Linked DNA regions of Homo sapiens: region 2 is linked to region 1. The links are contacts of gene promoters, found by promoter capture Hi-C in human tissues and cell types (Jung and others, 2019). All regions are on one chromosome and are shown on one strand. The core of a region is centred on a gene start or on the middle of the fragment in contact, and the rest is flanking DNA. Distances in the headings are between cores, read along the strand shown.

What was found. Contacts are between HindIII fragments. The study calls those that stand out against the background at their distance.
Region 2: a fragment that was not itself captured here is called in contact with the fragment with the promoter of MVD in region 1 in 1 of the 25 tissues and cell types used here (dorsolateral prefrontal cortex).

The regions. Positions count from the first base shown.
Region 1 is chr16:88,660,799-88,666,147 of GRCh38, forward strand. It overlaps MVD (mevalonate diphosphate decarboxylase), which reads right to left and starts at 2,293. Exons shown (of 10, transcript NM_002461.3): 1 at 2,213-2,293. The coding sequence starts at 2,282. SNAI3-AS1 (SNAI3 antisense RNA 1) reads left to right here and starts at 2,575. Exons shown (of 4, transcript NR_024399.1): 1 at 2,575-2,602. RefSeq lists silencers at 2,038-2,457, 2,798-2,957 and an enhancer at 2,538-2,587. The HindIII fragment of the contact is 7,255 bases long and covers 1-5,349 here.
Region 2 is chr16:89,236,705-89,242,053 of GRCh38, forward strand. It overlaps ZNF778 (zinc finger protein 778), which reads left to right. Exons shown (of 7, transcript NM_001201407.2): 7 at 1-437. Among named protein-coding and RNA genes, the nearest start is that of ZNF778, 22 kb to the left of the region's middle. RefSeq lists a silencer at 4,324-4,413 and an enhancer at 4,921-5,349. The HindIII fragment of the contact is 4,092 bases long and covers 857-4,948 here.

The sequences.
Region 1 (5,349 bases), core at 1,043-3,542:
AGCTTCAGACCAGCCTGGCTAACACGGTGAAACCCCATCTCTACTAAAAATACAAAAATTAGCCAAGTGTGGTGGCACGTGCATGTAGTCCCAAATACTCAGAAGACTAAGGCAGGAGAATTGCTTGAACCCAGGAGGCGGAGGTTACAGTGAGCCAAGATTGTGCCACTGCACTCCAGCCTGGGTGACAGAGCAAGACTCTGTCTCAAAAAAAAAAAAAAAAAAAAAAAAAATAGCAGAAGAGAAAATCCAGAAATAGACCCACACAAACATGCCCAGCTGATTTTTTTTTTTACAAAAGTGCAAAAGCAATTCAATAGAGGAAGGATAGCCTTTCTGGGCTAACTGGACAACCTTGGATCACAGACTTAAATATAAAAGGCAATCCTGTACAACTTGGAGGAAAGCAGACAATCTTCAGGACATAGGGCTAAGCAAAGAGGTCTTAGACTTGACATCAACATTGATACACTGAACTTCTTTAAAATGAAAAACTGGCTCTTTGTTAAGAGGACAAAAAGATTAGCTAGTTTGGGAGACAATACCTGCAAACCACATGTCCAACAGGAGACTAATATCTAGAATACATATTTTATTTTTTTTCAGTAGAGACGGGGGTTTCACCATGTTGGCCAAGCTGGTCTCAAACTCCTGACCTCAGGTGATCCGCCCACCTCAGCCTCCCCAAGTGCTGGGATTACAGGCTTGAGCCAGCGTGCCCAGCCTAGAATGTGTAATGAACTCTCCAAACTTATAGTAAAAAAGCAAACCATCCAGTTCGAGCGTGGACACAGAATATGAAGAGAGATTTCACCAAGAAAACCCACAGATGGCAAATAAGCACAAAGAAAGATGCTCCACGTCACTGGCCAACAGGGAAACGCGAATGAGGACCACAGCACCCTGCCAGCACATCCCTACCAGGACGCGGCTAAAATGAAAAACAGCAACTCCACCAAATGCTGGTGAGGATGCGGAAAATCTGCATCACCGTAGGGATGCAAAATGGCCCAGCCACTCTGAAAAACAATTAGACAGTTTCTTTAAAAAAAAAAAGTATATATATAATATATATATGTATATATACACACACATACATCTATATAGGTGTATACATATACACACACATATATCTATACAGGTGTATATATATATACACACACACAAACATACATATATACATAGAAAGAGAGAGAGAGACAGAGAGGCATATATATATATCTACCATCTGACCCAGCAACCGCACTCCTGGGCATTTATCCCAGAAGAATGGAAATGTATGTTCACACAAAAACCTGTATACAACATTTTATGGCAGCTTTATTGGTAAGGGAAACACAAAAAAATTAGCCAGTCGTGGTGGCGGCTTCTGGAAAGAAAAGAAAGAAAGAAAGAAAACGTTAGATGCTCTTTGCGGGGTGAGGCCTTGGCTAGAGAGAGGGTGGTCCATGGATTCCACGGACTGGCTCAGCAACAGAGGGGCAAAGCACTGATACAATCCCGGGGCACGTCCACATTCTATGCTGAATGAAATAAGCCAAACTCAAAAGATACTGGGTGGGCCACATAACTGCGATTCCAGTTTCAGAACATTTTGAAATGACGTTACAGAAATGAGTGGTCAGTGGCGGCCAGGTAACCCCGGCGCGAGGGGAGGGGCGGGGCTGTGAACGCACAGGTGCGGACCGGCCTCCCCGGCACGGATGTGGGCCTGCGGGCCCCCCATTACCGCTCCTTGGAGGTTACCGCTGGGAGAAACGGGGCGAGGGAGGGACACAGGGTCTCGGGCTGGGGGAGCAGTGGCGCGATTTCCGCTCACTGCAGCCTCGACCTCCCGGGCTCTGGCCATCCTCCCGCCTCAGCCTCCCGAGTAGCTGGAGCCACAAACGCGCACCACCACGGCGGATTCTTACGATTCATGGGAATCGATGATTGATGATTTCGATAGTTCGGTAATCGCTAATGGGCAGGCGCCGGGCGACCCTGCAGGGGCGGCAGCCGTCGCGGGGGAACGGGTGGCGCCGAGCTTGTCACGCGAAGGAGCGCGCGGCCCCGCCCGACCACCGCCGCGCCCCTCCCTGAGCCTCAGTTTCCCCGTCTGTCGAGGCCCTGGGAGGGCAGGACGGAGCGCGCCGCCGAATCAGCGCGCGACCCCCGCGTACCCGGCCTCGCTCCCGGCCATCCCCGTCCCAGGCCGGCCCGCGGCACTCACAGTACTTGATGACCGCGATGTTGACCGGCGCTGTACAAGTGACTGCCGCCAGCGGCTTCTCCGAGGCCATGGTCCCACCGCGCAGTGACCCCAGCTCCACAGCCACTTACGGCCCGCGATCCCACCCCAGAGGCCTCTGCCTCCTCACGCGCTACCACAGGATTGGCCCGTGCGAGCCCGGCTGCTCGCGCGCCGACCAATCAGCGGCGAGTCGGGCGCACGCATTACCTCTCAGCCAATGGACGGGATCGGACGATGGGTTGCTGACGTAGGTCCGCCCCACCCGCAGGGTGCGCTCGCCAGGCCTGGGGCGTGGTGTTGTCTGCGCAGGCGCCGTGTGCCCAGGCGCCTGGCGTCCGCGTCGGCGATCCGGGGTCTGGGCGCGGCGAGGTGGGCGCTGTTGCCTGTGGGGGCTACCTGTCTGCTGGTGCTGTGCGGGCTTGTGCGGGGCTGTGCGGCAGCTGTGTGGGGCCCGTGAGGAGCTGTGCGGGGGGCTGTGCGAAGGGCTGTGTGAGGCGCTGTGCTGGGGGCTGTGCGGAGACCTTGAGGCGCTGTGCGGGGTCCGTGAGGCTCTGTGTGGGGCGCCGTGTGGGAGACTCTGCGGGGGCCGTAAAGGGTCCGTGAGGCGCTGTGTGCGGGTTGTGAGGCGCTGTGCGGGGACCATGAAGGGGCCGTGGGGCGCTGTGCGGGTGCCGTGGGGCGCTGTGTGGGAGGGAGGCTGTGCGGGGCCGTGGGACGGTGTGCGGGGCTGAGGGGAGGGCGGGTCGCGCTGTGCCCTCCTTGAAGCTCTTGGACGGCCCCGCTGGGTATGGGGGTGCACACAGGCCCGAGGGCAGGCGCTGGAGGATGTATCCCGGGATCCACTCTTAACCCGGCAGCCGAAGGCACCCTGTCCCGCCGCCCACAGCCTTCTCCGCGCCATGTCCTGGGCCAGGATCCCCCGCCACGGGGCTCACACGAAAGACCCCGGGGCGGGGAAGCCCCGCAGCCCGGAGCTGGGTCCAACCTGCATTAAGGTGGGCGTCTCAAATACCCCCTGTAAGGCCCTGTAGGAGCAAAGCCTTGGACTGGGTTGCGGCGCTTGTGTGTGCATTGACTTCTCCTGTGAAACGTACAGGAACATTTAAGCGTGCCGTTCCCTGCCATTCATTCCAATCATGTGCCACGCCCCCACTATTTCTAGAGTTTTCTCACCCCAAACAGAAACTCTGTCCCCTTAAAACAATGACTTCCCATTTTCCCCTTCCCCTTTTAAAATTTTACCTTTAGTTTTTAAATAGCTCAGATTGGCTGGGCATGGTGGCTCACACCTGTAATCCCAGCACTTTGGGAGGCCGAGGTGGGCGGATCACGAGGTCAGGAGTTTGAGACCAGCCTGGCCAACATGGTGAAACCCTGTCTCTACTAAAAATACAATAATTAGGTGGGCGTGTGGTGCACGCCTGTAATCCCAGCTACTGGGGAGGCTGAGGCAGGACAATTGCTTGAACTCAGGAGGCGGAAGTTGCAGTGAGCCGAGATGGTGCTGCTGTACTCCAGCCAGGGTGACAGAGCAAGACTCCATCTCAAAAAAAAAAAAAAAAAAAAAAAAAACTCAGATTTCGGAAAATAGGGGAGTATGCAGTGTGAAGTGTCCACTCTGCCTAGCCACCTACTTCTATTACCAGAACCATCATACTTATAAATTCTTTATTTTTTTCCAGAAATAGAAAAAAAGTCTGTTTTTTTTCTCACTCTGTTGCTCAGGCTGGAGGGCAGTGGTACGATCAAAGCTCCATGCAGCCTCGACCTCCTGGCTCAAGGGATCTTCCCACCTCAGTTTCCTCAGTAGTTGGGACTACAGGTACACACCACCATGCCCGGCTAATTTTTTTCTTAATTTTTTTGTAGAGATGTGGGGGGGTCTTGCTATGTTGCCCAGGCTGATTTGAAGTCCTGGCCTCAGGGAACCCTCCCATCTCAGTCTTCCAAAGTACTGGGATTAGGTGTGAGCCACTCCACCTGGCCTGTCAATTCTTTGTGTATTTTTTCATTGACGTGCATAGTACAAGCACATAGCGTGTTCTCCCACCTTGCTTTTTCTACGTACCTTCTTCTTAGAGATCATCCCAATTTAGTAAAAAGCTTCCTTGTTTGTTGTCTAAATATACCTGGTCTGTCCTAGTTGGGTTGTTACTATAAACAGTGCTTTCCTACGTTGTTTGTGCACATGTATTTCTGCAGGAGAAATTCCTGGAAGTGGAATTGCTGGGCCAAGTGGGATGTGCCTGAGTACTTTTGATAGCTGTTGGCAAGTCGCCCTTTGTGGAAGTCAATTGATTACTCAGGTCTCTCTGCGGAAGTCTGAGAGTGCCTGCATGCCTTCACCAGCACAGTGGGTCACCTGCCAGAGTGACATGTGTTGTCTCACTGTTTTCAATTTGCATTTCAGATGGTGGTTATTTTTAATTTCTCTTGCAATCACAGCTGCTTTTCCATTTTATGCAAAGCCACTAAATCCTATTGAAGAGCTGATGTGGACTGTCTCGGCCTATAGTCAGGGTGTATTCCCTCAGCTACTCAGAGAGAGTGGGGCTTCCAGTCACCTCCTTCCTTCTGCCACGGCTGTGATGAAAAAGAAGACACAGGCTTGGTGCTTTGGGAGGCCAAGGAGGGCAGATTGTTTAAGTCCAGTAGAAAAAAAAACAATTTATTTTTGTTTAGAGACAGGGTCTCACTCTGTTGTCCAGGCTGGAGTGCGATGGCACCATCAGCTCACAGCAGCCTCAACCTCCTGGGCTCAGGTGATCCTCCCACTTCAGCCTCCCAAGTAGCTGTGATAAGTGCCACCACTCCTGACTAATTTTTATTTTTTATTTTGTAGAGATGGAGGTCTTACTGTGTTGCCCAGGCTGCTCTTTTTTTTTTTTTTAGACAGAGTCTCGCTGTGTCACCCAGGCTGGAGTGCAGGGGGGCAATCATAGCTCACTGCAACTTCTGCCTCCTGGTTTCAAGTGATTCTCATGCCTCAGCCTCCCAAGTAGCTGGGATTACAAGCGTGCACCAGCAGGCCCGGCAAATTTTTGTATTTTTAGTAGAGACGGGGTTTCGCCATGTTTGGCCAGGCTGGTCTCAGACTCCTTGCCTCAAGTGATACG
Region 2 (5,349 bases), core at 1,653-4,152, 580 kb after region 1:
CCGTGCTCCATTTCAGTGGCAAAATACCATTCCAGAAGGACTGGAAAAGCTAAGTCTGTATATTTTAATTACTAAAGAAGTGTACAGCTGGGTGTGGTGGCTCACGCCTGTAATCCCACCACTTTGGGAGAGTGAGGTGGGTGGATCACTTGAGGTCAGGAGTTTGAGACCAGCTTGGCCAACATGGTGAAACCCCATCTCTACTAAGAAATACAAAAATTAGCTGTGTGTGGTTGGGGGCACCTGTAATCTCAGCTTCTCAGGAGGCTGAGGCAGGAGAATCACTTGAACCCAGGAGGTGGAGGTTGCAGTCAGTCGAGATTGTGCCACGGCACTCCAGCCTGGGTGACAGAGCAAGACTCTGTCTAAAAAAAAAAAGGACAATGAGATATACTAAAATGGTCCAATATGTTAATTAAAACATACTACTAAAAAAAGTGTTAAATAGCCTGAAAGAATTGTGATAAAGGGGAAACTGAGTACTGGGAACAAAAGAGAACAAGTAGGTAACGAAGTGGTGGCCAGGTGCGGTGGCTCAGGCCTGTCATCCCAGCACTGTGGGAGACCGAGGCGGGCGGATCACTTGAGGTCAGGAGTCAGACCAGTCTGGCCAACATAGTGAAATCCCGTCTCTACTAAAAATACAAAGTTAGCCAGGGGTGATGGTGGGAGCCTATAATTCGAGCTACGTGGGAGGCTGAGGTAGGAGAATCACTTGAACCGGGGAGGTGGAGGTGGCAGTGAGCTGAGATCGCGCCACTGTACTCCAGCCTGGGTGACAGCAAGACTCTGTCTAAAATAAAAAATAAAAAATAACTGGTAGAGCTGAATCCTAGATAATCAAACACATTAGTGCACATGATCAGCTGGGCACTCACGCCTGTAATCCCAGCACTTTGGGAGGCCGAGGCGGGTGGATCACTTGAGGTCAGGAGTTCCAGACCAGCCTGGCCAACACGGTAAAACCTTGTCTCTACTAAAAATACAAAAATTAGCCAGGTTTGGTGGCTCATGCCTGTGGTCGCAGCTACTCAGGAACCTGAGGCAGGAGAATCATTTGAACCCAGGAGGTGGAGGTTGCAATGAGCCAAGATCGTGCCACTGCACTCCAGACTGGGCAACAGAGCAAGACTTCATCTCAAAAAAAAAATATGATCTACACATGCTATTTAAAGATAGGACAGATAAAAAGTGTGACGCATCAGTATGTCATCTACAAGACACTTCAAATACAATGACGTAAATAGGTTAATAGTACCATGTAAACATAATAAAGTGGAGAGGCTGTATTTAACATCAGAAAAAATGACTTCAGCACAAAGAAAATTACCACAGGGTGTTGAGTGCAGTGGCTGATGCCTGTAATCCCAACACTTTGGGAGGCTGAGGTGGCTGGCTCACTTAAGGCCAGCAGTTCAAGACCAGCCTGGGCAACATGGCGAAACCCTGTCTGTACTAAAAATACAAAATTAGCCGGGCATGGTGGCAGGCACCTGTGATCCCAGCTACTTGGGAGGCTGAGGCAGGAGAATCTCTTGAACCCGGGAGGTGGAGGTTGCAATGAGCCGAGATAGCGCCATTGCACTCCAGCCTGGGCAACAAGAGCAAAACTCCATCTCATAAATAAAAGTTAAAAGCAAAATGTGATAAAAGACCACAAAAATGAAAAATTACAGTGTTAATTATATTGATTCAAATTAGTTATGTTAAATATTAGCAAATAATACAAAACCACATTGAGAAAATAATAAACCATGACCAAGTGGAATTTAAGACTGCAACTGGTTCAATTAGAAAGCCTATTAAATACTACACCATATGAATCCATCTAAGAAGATAAGGCATGTGATTGTATCCATAGGTGTTGATGAAGCCTTTGGGAAAATGTGGTACCTACTATTGATAGACGCACTCAAAATAGGAATTGGTGAATACTTTCTTAGGACGCCTGTGTCTGTAGCTATATGTGTGTGTGTGTGTACTGGAAGTGTTACCTAATGCAATTGGGCAAAACAGATTTGCAAAAAAGTGAACTATCTCTTGTGTGCATTATATGATATACATGGAAAGCCCTGTAGAATCAGTAAAAACATTTAGTAAGTTAGAGGAGGTGAAGTTGCCGTCAAAACATAGATGGTCTTCATCTACACAACCAATAACCAGTGAGGTGATATGATAGTAGAGAAAACTTATTTATAATAGCAATAAAACAATGCTTAGAAATAAATTTATCAAGAAATGTATAAAACCTAAATGAGGAAACTTTTTGTTTGTTTGTTTGTTTGAGACAGAGTCTCGCTCTGTCATCCAGGCTGGAGTGCAGTGGCATGATCTCGGCTCACTGCAACCTCCACCTCCTGGGTTCAAGTGATTCTCCTGCCTCAGCCTCCCAAGTAGCTGGTATTACAGGTACCTGCCACCACGCCCGGCTAATTTTTGTATTTTTAGTAGAGACGGGATTTCACCATGTTGGCCTGGCTGGTCTCAAACTCCTGACCTCATGATCTGTCCGTCTCGGCCTCCCAAAATGCTGGGGTTACAGGCGTGAGCCACCGGGCCGTGCCCGGCCATGAGGAAACTTTAAAACACTTTTTTTTTTTAGATGGGGATTTGCTCTGTCCCACAGGCTGCAGTGCAGTGGTGTGATCACAGCTCACTGCAGCCTCGACCTCCAGGGCTCAAGCGATCCTTCCTCCTCATCCTCTCAAGTAGCTGAGACTACAGGTGCACACCACCACACCAGGCTAATTAAAAACTTCTAGGCCAGGCGCGATGGCTCACGCCTGCAATCCCAGCACTTTGGGAGGCTGAGGCGGGTGGATCACGAGGTCAGGAGATCGAGACCATCCTGGCTAACATGGTGAAACCCCATCTCTATGAAAAATACAAAAAGTTAGCCAGGTGTGGTGGCGGGCGCCTGTAGTCCCAGCTGCTTAGGAGGCTGAGACAGGAGAATGGTGTGAACTCAGGAGGTGGAGCTTGCAGTGAGCCAAGATCACACCACTGCACTCCAGCCTGGGTGGCAGAGCAAGACTGTCTCAAAAAAAAAAAAAAAAAAAAAAAAAAAAAAAAAAAACCACATAGACTTGAACAAACGGGCAAATTCCTTGTTCTTTGATGGGATGACAACATCATAAAAATCCCATTCTTAATTCAGAAATGAAACATAATCCCAGTTACAACAGCACCAAAAGCTTTTTGTGGAGTTAATGCAGATTGACGCTGAAGTTCATGTGGGGGCACAGACGTCTGATGGTGCCCAAGAAACCCAGGAGACAAAACTGATGCTTCCCTGTGGACACTGCAGCATCCTCTAAAGCCGCTGTAATTAAGGTATGTGACACATGACCAGGAAGCAGACAGATGGACAAAAATGGAATATCTGGAAATAGACCTAGCAACATGGAAATTTAGTTAATAAAGTGGGTATTTCAGATCAGTGGGGCAAAAATGCAGTTTGTAATGAAAGGTGCTAGGACAACTGGTGAGCTGTCTGAACAAGATGGTTTTACATGTATAAATTACACCGTTCAGGTCGAGTGTGGCGGCTCACGCCTGTAATCCTAGCACTTTGGGAGGCCAAGGGGGGGCAGATCAGTTGAGATCAGGAGTTCGAGACCAGCCTGGCCAACATGGTGAAACCCCATCTCGGGCAGGCGCAGTGGCTCGCGCCTGTGATCCCAGCACTTTGGGAGGCCGAGGCAGGCGGATCACGAGGTCAGGAGATCGAGACCATCCTTGTTAACACAGTGAAACCCCGTCTCTACTAAAAATACAAAAAAATTAGCCGGGCGTGGTGGCGGGCGCCTGTAGTCCCAGCTACTCGGGAGGCTGAGCCAGGAGAATGGCGTGAACCCGGGAGGCGGAGCTTGCAGCGAGCCGAGATCGCGCCACTGCACTCCAGCCTGGGCAGCAGTGAGACTCCATCTCAAAAGAAAAGAAAAGAAAAGAAAAACCCCATCTGTACTAAAAATACGAAAGTTAGCCAGGCATGGTGGTGCGGGCCTGTAATCCCAGCTACTCAGGGGGCTGAGGCAGGAGAATTGGTTGAGCCCGGGAGGTGGAGCTTGCAGTGAGCCGAGATGGCGCCACTGCACTCCAGCCTGGGTGACAGAGCGAGACCCCGCCTTCCCCCCGCCCCCCAAAAAATTACACCGTTCACAGGAATAAGCTGCAAATGGATCAGGGATCTAAATGTGGACAAAACGTGCACACGTGGGTGATGTGAATGGTTTCGGGGCGATTGGGAAGAGGGCCTGGCCAGCAGGGGGCGGTAGCGCAGGCAGACCGGGTTCCGCGGTGCCTCGCCGGCTTCGGGGTGGGGGTCACCGCTCAGAAGGGGAGGAGAGCGAGGGACTTCCGGGGGGAAGGGAGGAGAGCGAGGGACTTCCGGGGGGAAGGGAGGAGAGCGAGGGACTTCCGGGGGGAAGGGAGGAGAGCGAGGGACTTCCGGGGGGAAGGGAGGAGAGCGAGGGACTTCCGGGGGGAAGGGAGGAGAGCGAGGGACTTCCGGGGGGAAGGGAGGAGAGCGAGGGACTTCCGGGGGGAAGGGAGGAGAGCGAGGGACTTCCGGGGGTAAGGGACTCGGTGAGGAACTCGGGGGATCGGAGAGGGGCTCGTGTGCTGGGCGACAGTGACACACTCAGCAGCCCGGCGGGAGCCGCGGTCGGTACCGTCTGAAGGGCAGCCGGGGCTGGGGGACCGACAGCTCTCAGGTGTCGGTTTTTCTGTGGCTAGCGGATGTTTGGCACCATTTCACAGGGCACACAGGGCAGACGGGACCTAGATGACGACAGATCTGCGTGTTTGGGCTCTGTTTGAAACAGACCTCAGCCAGAGTCTTGAAGAGCAGAACCCGGAGTGTTGAAGTCACAAGAGATCAACATCCCTACGGTGTGAAATCCTGAAAACGGCAAATCCCAAAGGACGAAACGCCCGAAAATGATGTCATCCTTTAAGTGTTTTCTTCTTTTTTCTTTTCTTTTTCTTTTCTTTTCTTTTTTTTTTTTTTTTTGAGTCAGGATCTCGCTCTGTCGCCCAGGCTGCAGTGCAGTGCCGCTATCGTGGCTCACTGCAGCCTCAGCCTCCTGGGCTCGAGTGGTCCTCCCACCAGAGCCTCCCACACTGCTGGGATTACAGGCACCAACCACCTTGCGCAGCTAGAGAGTAATTTTTAAACTTCTTTAAAAGACAGTTAGACTGGACATGGTGGCTCACGACGGGAATCCCAGCAATTTGGGAGCTCAAGCTGGGGGGATCGCTAGAGTCCAGGAGTTTGAGACCAGCCTGGGAAACAGGGAGACCGTGTCTCTACGAAAAAAAGTTTAAAAAATTAGCCGGATGTGGTGG